2 separate regions of the Homo sapiens genome follow, and region 1 is linked to region 2. The links are contacts of gene promoters, found by promoter capture Hi-C in blood cells and fetal thymus (Javierre and others, 2016). All regions are on one chromosome and are shown on one strand. Each heading gives the region's core, a stretch centred on a gene start or on the middle of the fragment in contact. The rest is flanking DNA. Distances are from core to core; before and after follow the strand shown.

What was found. Contacts are between HindIII fragments. The CHiCAGO score rates a contact against its expected background, and 5 or more counts as called.
Region 1: a fragment that was not itself captured here is called in contact with the fragment with the promoter of HPSE in region 2 in 1 of 17 cell types (total CD8 T cells); the score reaches 6.2 in total CD8 T cells.

What each region holds. Positions count from the first base shown.
Region 1 is chr4:82,967,945-82,972,678 of GRCh38, forward strand. It overlaps LIN54 (lin-54 DREAM MuvB core complex component), which reads right to left. Exons shown (of 13, transcript NM_194282.4): 4 at 2,383-2,525. Among named protein-coding and RNA genes, the nearest start is that of LIN54, 41 kb to the right of the region's middle. The HindIII fragment of the contact is 300 bases long and covers 1,915-2,214 here.
Region 2 is chr4:83,332,559-83,337,405 of GRCh38, forward strand. HPSE (heparanase) reads right to left here and starts at 2,290. Exons shown (of 12, transcript NM_001098540.3): 1 at 1,998-2,290. The coding sequence starts at 2,224. The HindIII fragment of the contact is 2,644 bases long and covers 727-3,370 here.

The DNA of each region.
Region 1 (4,734 bases), core at 815-3,314, 360 kb before region 2:
CTGAACGATAGATAAGCTTTCAACCGGATGTAAGCTTTTGACTGTACATTTCACACCTGTGAATTTTAATAACCAAAACAAGCTTGTTTTTGTTTTTTGTTTTTTTTTTTTCTGGAGACAAGAGTTTCGCTTTTGTTGCCCAGGCTGGAATGCAATGGCAGGATCTCAGCTCACCGCGACCTCTACCTCCTGGGTTCAAGCAATTCTCCTGCCTCAGCCTCCCGAGTAGCTGGGATTACAGGCATGTGCCACCAAGCCCAGCTAATTTTGTATTTTTTTTGTAGAGACAGGGTTTCTCCATGTTGGTCAGGCTGGTCTCAGACTAAAACAAGCTTGTTCTTATAGTTAAGTGTAAAATCTTGCCAAGAGTCAAGAAAGGAAGATCCAATATGGCAGGGCTAAAGTCAAGGATGGGAAAAAAATAAAGCCAGTTCCTATTCGTATGTCATCAGGTATAAACCATATACCAGTCAAATTAGTCCATAGGGCTACCATCTACCCCGTTATCTAAGTCAGAAATACAGGAGTCATCCTAGATTCTCCCCCTAAGATACTGAACCTCTTTCAACACATCTCTCTTCCTCTTTAGCCCCTGAGCTACTAGTGTAGTTCAAACATGAAGTACTGCAATAATCTCTTAGTGATTCTCTACCCTGGCCTACACTTTTAAAAGATTAAATTTAACACACAGGCCGCAGCCTAGAGATTCTGATTTAAATGGGGTCAGGTAGGGGCCTGCCATTAGTTTTCTCAAGAGGTCCCCAGTACTAACTGCAGCCAAGGTTGAGAATCACTAACCTAACTGGTCTCTCCCACAATACAGGCTCACCTTCCCCCAAACTATCTCTCATAATGCCACAAGATTCGTATTTTTAAAAATGCAAATTTCATATTATTTATAGCAGTGGTTCCCAATCTAGGCTACCCACTAGAATCACTTAAAGAGCTTTGTAAAATCCTGATACCAGGTCAAGTCTGGAGAGATGAAAACAGAATCTCTGGGGATGAGAACTAGGCGTCGGTATTTATTAAAACTCTCCAGGTGATCCCAATAAGCAGATAAGGGCGAGAATCACTGTCCTAGAAGCAATGAGAAGCCACAGAAGTCCAAACTCCCCTGAAGATAAAGAAACCGTCCATCTAACCTTAGCACCCTCGGCTCTCACACTGCAAAAATCAGTGAGGCTTCCTGAAAGACCACACTTTTACACCTTTATGTAAAGTATCACCTCAATCCAGAAATCCCCTTCTGCTCATCTGGAGCTAAGTCCAACCCACGTTTAAGGTTAAGACCTTTCAAGAATAAGCTCCTTTGTATAAACCTTCCCTGCCAAACACACAGCAGTCATTAATCCATCTATGACCATTGTAATTCTGTAGGACAATTTTTAATGTTTCAGTCTAACTACCTTATTGAATTCCTTGAAATGAAATACCTTATCTTATTCATGTTTTATCCTCAGTGCCTATCACTATGCATGGCACAGTTACCCTCAAATTTCTGCCAAATTCATTCAATTTAGGGAAAAAGTTATGCAGGTAGAATTTGACCTTAATAAACTGTATGAGATAACATATTTGTACATTATAGTCAAGGCTCATTAAAGAAACCAACACCTGGACTTTAAAAAATGTAAGGCAAATGTTTAACGTTTGTTCTATTTATGAACAGTAACAAATCAAAGAAAGCAGGTGCAAAGGGCAGTATTGTTTCCAGAGTCACAAGCGTGAAACCTAACAAAATAATAATGCTTGGCTTTCTATCTGAATAATATGTCCTTTAAAACATATCTTTTTCAAAATGTTATGCTGGTATAATAACAACTGTATGTTTTAGGAAAGTGAGTTAGATGACTTACTTTGCCTCACAATAAAATAAGAAAGCATTTGAATGCTTCCAATAAAATGTATTCAAGCTTAAACAACACTGATAATATGGCTACCAGCATCTGATGGCAATTTCTACTACTCTGGGTCCTGTTACCAAGCAAAAGTTCAGATCTCCATTTTTTAAAGTTACATTTAATATTTTATATCATAAGTCTATATGTACCTTCCACAAATACAATAATTTTGCTAAAATATTAACTAAAGAAGAACTAAACACCTACATTATTGAATTTATTCAAGATTTTGTTGTACCCACATTCATATGGGCTATGGAAATCATATTCACATGCAAAATGATTACTATGTTACTATGTGTTTAAAGTAAGCTTTTTAATCTGTCAGACATCCTTGATTACTAAATTAATCCAGTATTCATTGAATGTCTATTACTTGCTTGGGAATGTACTAAAATTGAAGTATCTGAAGTGACTAGTAAGAAAATAAAGGCATCAACCACAATATTTGGTATTTGTGGCTAATTTATTTTTTTACCTTATTTGGCGATTTCAAAGGTGAGATGGCTATTTTATTTGGTGTCTGTGTTGTAGAATTTAAAGTTGATCCAATAACACCACTTTCAGATATTGTTATGGTCTTTGATGGAGTTCCGGGAGTAGACTGTGAAAGAACCCTACCTGCAAATGAGAGGCAGCACATCAGTTTGACTTTTTTCAATAATAGTATAAAAATTTATGTGATGATGCTCTACACTCACAAGGACTGCAGAATGTATGTTTGTTATTTCATGTCAACACTTAATGAGGCACTAATGAACTATGGTAAACCTAGGCAGAACTAAACAAAACACTACTTCTTAGTAATACTTAATATCAGCTTACATTAAACTCTACAAAAACAGTTTAGTTCATGTGTTCATCAATACTGTTGTTATATCCATCAGAGAGAAAGCTCAGGGCAACTAAGTAATGTGCCCTGTGTAACACAGCTCCTGAAAGTCAGAACATGAACCCAAGTCTTAAAACTTCAATCTCTGTATTCTACTATCTATAGCTGTCTTCCCATATGAACTTAAACCATGAAGGTACAATTGAAATCCACACTTATAAAACAGATAGTTATTGGACTAACTTAAACACTGAAAGGTTTAATACTACCTGATTTTAGACTGCCAAAGGGGATAAAAAAATGTTTTTTCTACCCACCCCGGCCAGATTCCATATTGTGTTCCCTTCTGGACAAGACCCTTCAGGAACAACCATGAAAAACTCTAGTGTCTGGATGCTTGGGGAACTGAAAACCATATTACATTGAGTTGAAATATCAGGAATTTTTATCCTAGGTAAGAAAAGACTACAAAGACATAACAGATCTTCAAATTCTTGAAGACTGTGTGATAGCCATTATTCCCATTCACCAAGTATTCTAGCTTTCTTCCATTCTGGACACATGGTAGAACTACACTTGCACTTCCTACCACTCCCACCCCATCTTGTAGTTAAGTTAGAGTCATGTCACTACTCCTGGCAGACGAGTTATGAGTAGAAGTGACGTGTGTCATTCTTGGGCCACAGCATTTATTACTGCCTATGCAAGACCTTCCAAAGTTTATTTTCCTCTGCCATCTGAGATGGCGGCTCCTTGGTTAGCCTGTGTCCCTGAGTTGCTATGAAGAGAAGATACCTTTTTGAACCCACAATGGTCATATAGATAATCAATTTTTAAATTTTTTTTAAATTGAATTTAAAAAAAAAAAACAGGTTTTTTACCCTTCTGAGGTTTGGAGATTATTTTGGCAGAAAAACCAAGATTATCCTAACTGATCCAGGCTGTCAGGTTAAAGGATTAGAACCAATCTGTATCACATCAAATGCAGAGAAACAGAAAATATTTCAGCTCAGCACTAAGAAAGAACTTCTAACAAAAATTTCCAACTGAAATGACTATTTCAACACAAGTGAGTTTCTAGTCACTAAAGGTGTCCCAGGCAGATGCTGGATAATCAAATATACCGGCTAAAGAGGAAAGTCAAGCATCTAAGAAGTAGAGAAGATTGATAACTAAATTATCTCTAGAATCTGCTCTAACCTTTAGATACTATGATTAAACTCATAGATCCAGCTAGAGATGAAGGAGAGAGCATGACAGTGAGGAGAAAGGGAAAGAGAGAAAGAAGGGACTTTCACTTTAGACAAAAATAAAGAACTAATGCTTAGCAGCTTCTGGGCCATTTTTCCTGACAACAATGCCAAAGTATGCCTTTTGTTTTGTTTTGTTTTGAGACAGGGGTCTCCCTCAGTCACCCAGGCTAGAATGCAGTGGCGTGATCATAGCTCACTGCAGCCTTGAACTTCTGGGCTCAAATGATCCTCCCATCTCAGCCTCCTGAGTAGCTGGGACCACAGGCACGTGCCACCATGCTTAGCTATTTTTTTTTTATTTTTTTTAGACAATGGAGTTTTGTCATGTTGCCCAGGCTGGCACAGTTTCTTTTTTAAAAAGTGAATCAAGTTTTATCCCCATCTATGAATTTTTAAAGTATTTTCAATACAATTTTCAAAATTTCTTTGTAGTACATAGATTAATTTTAATGACATTCTGCCAGGTTTTTTAAAAACCTGAATACATCATAATTACATAAAGTCAATTCTAAATAAACCAAACGAATCTACATCAAATAGGTTTAGAGAGCCGCCCTAAAGTATTCAGCCTGCCTAAAGTAACATGTTTGTCTATTCTGGTTTCCAAAGCTAATACCTGTGAGATAAGTATGAAGCCCCAATAACCATTCTGTTAAGAAAAGAAATTACCAGTAAAGACACAGTTTCATAAAATGTTCATTATTTATAGCCACTGCTATAATTTCATGTGTTAGGAATTACATAT
Region 2 (4,847 bases), core at 1,040-3,539:
CATTATACTCCAGTCTTTAACAAAAAGGTGCAGAGGAGGGGAAAAAAGGGTGCTCTGGGAAATGAAGAGATGTATTTAAGAAGAATAAAGGTATCATCCTCACTAAATTGCAGATTGGAATTTCTACGTGTTAGGGGGGTGTTAGTCAATTGCGGGGAGCTTGACTGCTGGGTGATCAGGCCCAGATCCTGGAAGTCCCACTGTATGTTTTTTCTTTTGGACCTGTTACTCCAGGGGGGAACCCCCATCTGTCCTTTCTTGGGGAGAGGTTGGGGAATATGCTGGCTACAGCAATAGAAGAGGCCTCAGGTCCTCACATTTCAGTAAATGGACATCTACTTCATACCCATGTTCAGTAACCGCCCCCCCCCACCCCACACCCCAGCAAGCTAAGACTGGGGTCCTGTGATCTGGAGCCCTATGGTTCAGCATTTCTCTGGAACAATCTTCCTATCCCCCAACTAGTTGCTGCCTAGTATCAGCTTCCTATCCTTAAGGGGAAGGGCAGAAAGTAAGGATTCTTCCCCACCAGAAAATTGTAGTGCCAGAAGGAAAAGGAGAGGTTAACTATGATCCAAAGAAACAGAAAACCGGTGAATGGCTACCAAATGCTCACCATGTCCTAGAAAGAAACAATTCGTTTGAAACGTCAAACACTTACTATGGGTCAAACACTGAGAAGCTCTTACCATATCATCAAATCCTCGGGCAATAATCCTTGAGGCAAGCTTGAGAAATTCCATTCTACAGCTGAAGAAATCAAGGTTGGTGTGGCCAAGAGATATGGAAAAACCAAGTCACTCATCTTTGCCAGAGCTGAGAGTCAAGCCAGGATGGTCTGTCCATCTCTTAACCAGTACACTACCCATTAAATTAGCGCTGGCAACTATAGTGTGGGCTCAGGGAGGACAGCATCTAGGTATTTGACACAGAGGTGAGATAATGGTGATCTTTCCCTCTATCTGGGCTGGTCAAGATGTGGCCATCTCTGGAGGCTCCCAGGGCCTAAATAAGAGGCCTAGAAGACCTGGGATTGTCCCTGTAGCTCCCCATCTTGGAGTCAGCCTGCATTCATGGGGCAGGAGCCCTGAACCTGCATCAGGTTCCTTCTTTCTCAGGTAAGGAAAAAACTTAGAGCTGATAAGGCAGCACCACATTTTGCAGCCCCATTTTGGAGAGACATCTTTTTATTAGGACTTTGTAAGTCACTGCAGTAGTCTCCTAGGTCTCATTTATTGAATATTTAGATTTTTATTCCTGTTCTGTGACGCCCTTTTCATCTGCCTAAAAAAAAAAAAAGAAAAGAAAAAAGAAAAAGAAAAGAAAAGAAAGAGAAATCTTCCTAACACAGTCTTAAATACAGAAGGCTATGCACAATCTTACTTGTCCTACACTGCACAGCAAATCAAGCACTCACAGGCCTTCAGGTGCACCTGCCTGGTTTCCCTCCTCTTGGCTAGGGAAGTACTGGGGCAAGTGGGCAGTTTCTTTTTCAAATTTCCACTTATACCTGACCTTAGGTGGTGCCTATTCAACACTTACAGAATGAATGAAACAAAAAGGCTCATTTAGAGTGGGCGCTAAACAATGTGTACACATGGACTTAGTGGAATAGTAGACACTGGAGACTCCAAAAGGTGGGAGGGTGGGAGAGGGATGAGGGATGAGAAATTACCTATTAGATACAATGTACAACATTCGGGTGACAGTTACACTAAGAGCCCAGATGCCACCACAATGCAATATACCCATGGAACAGAACTGCACTTGTAACCCCTAAATCTATTTTTTAAATGATACCCCCCAAAAAGCAGTTTGGGGTCTGAGAGTAAGGGAGGGAGAGGGAGAATGAGAGGCGGGAAGTGGGGTGGGGAGAGACAGGCGGGGAGGTTCCGGTGTGAAGTTGTTTCCGCGCAAAAGAAGGAGAGCGGCTGGCGGGGCAGACATAGGTGTCAGGAGGACAGGAAAGGGGACAGGACCAGGAGGCTGGCGCTTACCCCAGGAGGATGAGGAACCGCGGGTCCGTGGCCAGGTTGGCGTCAATGGTGACGGACAGGAACGAGGGGCTCACCAGGTGCAGCGGCTCCTGGGTGAAGAAGTCCAGGTCCACGACGTCCTGTGCTTGCGCAGGTCGGGGCAGGGCGCCAGGGGAGAGGGGACCCAGCGGCCCCAGGAGCAGCAGCATCAGCGGCGGCGGCAGCGCAGGCTTCGAGCGCAGCAGCATCTTGGGCTCACCTGGCTGCTCCCCCCGCCAGCTGCCGCGCAGCGGAGAGTCGAGAGCTCTAGCACTTCCTCCCGCCGAGCCCCAGCGCCCTTTTCTCCTTTCCTCCGCCCCGTTACGCCTCCTCACCCCTCCCACTGCGCCCTCCATCCCTCCCACTCCTCTTCTGCATCCCTCCCACTGCTCCCAATCCAACCCCGCCCCGCCTGCCCGGCTCTCTCCTACTTCCTTGCTCGCTTTCCCCTCGGTGGCGGTCACGTTCACTTACGAAATCACCCACACCCACTTGAAGGGTGCGGAGATGGCCGGGATCCAAGCGCCCGGGAGGCCTGGGGAGGAGCGCCCGGGGAGGAGCGCCCGGGGAGCAGCGCTGGGCATCCCGGACCAGGCTTCCTGACGCACGTGTTCTGCGCGCTCTCGTGGGAACCCAGCGTTTCCGACTCCCAGATCCCATTCTGATGGCGCCGGGTATCCCTCTGACCCTCGAGTAAAACCTCCAATGGAGTATTCATCCCTTCCTCTCCCATCTAGCTTATAAACACTTGCTTGTCACTTGAGCCAGCCAAAATCTGATTGTCCTCTGGCCAGGCAGTTTCTCAGGTATTTTACTTTTGCTTGAAAAAATCTGGCCTCAGCATACGCTAAACTGCAGCTGGAAAGAGATCAACCACCCAAAATTCTTTATCAACTTCTCATTAAGACAATATTTAGCAATCTTAAAGGGTTAGTTGCTCCAATGTCTGGAACTCAGGACCTGAAGCCCCCATACAAAGTGTAGAGTACGGACTGCCCCTGAATTTGGAGCCTTTGCCAAATTTCTCCTCTGCGCATTTATCTTTCGCTGTTGGTCAGACTTTTCTTCAGCTTTTCCTTGATGCTTACACTGATGTATAATCATAGCAAGCATCGCACGCTTAGTGCCTACTGTATGCCTGATACAGGTGCTTTACTTGTGTTCTCTTCCCTTCTCACAACCCTGCCAAGTGCATACTGTCCTTGTTTTACACATGCGGACCCAAGCTCTGAGACAGTAACTGGGTGAAGTGTCAGAATCGGGATGTGAAGTGTCAGAATCGGGATGTGAATGCAGTTACAAAACCTCGAGCAGATGGCAGTGTGTTTCAGCTGAAATGTAACTTCCCTCAAGGAAGCTTTCTCTCAATCTCCAGGCAGCTCTCCATGACACACTCTCATAGCATCCTCAATTTGTTAGACACTCTCGTAGCATCCTCAATTTGTTAGACACTCTCGTAGCATCCTCAATTTGTTAGTATTGTGATGTTGCTCAACATTGGCTTCATCTACTAGATTATATGCTCCACCAAAACAGAGATTAAGTTTGTCTCACACGCTATGCTAGCCATAGCTCAGGCATGTGATCATGTTGGTGCTTAGTAAGAGTCTAATAAATATTGGTTGAGTAAGCAAATAACACCAAAACCCTTAGATTTTTCCACTTGAGATTGTACCACCAATAAGGCAACAAATAAAAATAGATTATTTTGAAATGCATATCTAATTTGCATAAATCAGGCCAGGCATGGTATGTGATGCCAGTGATGCCATCATGCCTGTGATGCCAGCATTTTGGGAGGCCAAGGTGGGAGGATTGCTTGAGCCGAGGAATTCAAGAACAGCCTGGGCAACATGATGAAACCCCATCTCTACAAAAAATACAAAAAATTAGCCAGGCGTGGTGGCCCGTGCCTGTGGTTCCAGCTACTGGGGAGGCTGAGGTGGGAGGTTTATTTGAGCCTGGGAGGTGGAGGTTGCAGTGACCCTTAATCACACCACTGCACTCCAGCCTGGGTGACAAAGTGAGACCCTCTCTTAAAATAATAATAATAATTATCATTATTTGCATAGATCTACCTATTCTTAAGCAACTTAAAAGCTAAGCTCATAGTGAGTTTTGCAACTAGAATCAGGTTCATATCCTACAATTACTGTATACATATGAAAAAAAATTCACACATAAACACCACACTACCAGAAGAGTGTAATAATATGGTAGCAGACGTGGAGTTGGAAAAACAGAAGTTTCTTTTCCACATTTGTCATGACATTAATCTTACACCCCACCCCATGCCCCTGACTCCTGTTGTGAGTCAACAGTCATACCAATTTCTTTCTTTTTTTTTTTTTTTGAGACGGAGTCTCGCTCTGTCGCCCAGGCTGGAGTGCAGTGGCACCATCTCGGCTCACTGCAAGCTCTGCCTCCTGGATTCACGCCATTCTCCTGCCTCAGCCTCCCGAGTAGCTGGGACTACAGGGGCCTGCCATCACCCCCGGCTAATTGTTTTGTATTTTTAGTAGAGATGGGATTTCACCATGTCTGTCAGGATGGTCTCAATCTCCTGACCTCGTGATCTGCCCGTCTCAGCCTCACAAAATGCTAGGATTGCAGGCATGAGCCACTGTGCCATGCCCAGTCATACCAATTTCTTTAACATGTTTGGGTGATTTGAAAAGTGGACCATTGCAAGTTTTCTAAATAGTGCATCCTTGTGGTCTACATGTGAGTTACTAATATGGAAACGGGGGGCCGGGTGTGATGGCTCACACCTGTAATCCCAGCACTTTGGGAGGCCAAGGCGGGTGGATCACTAGAGCCCAAGAGTTCAAG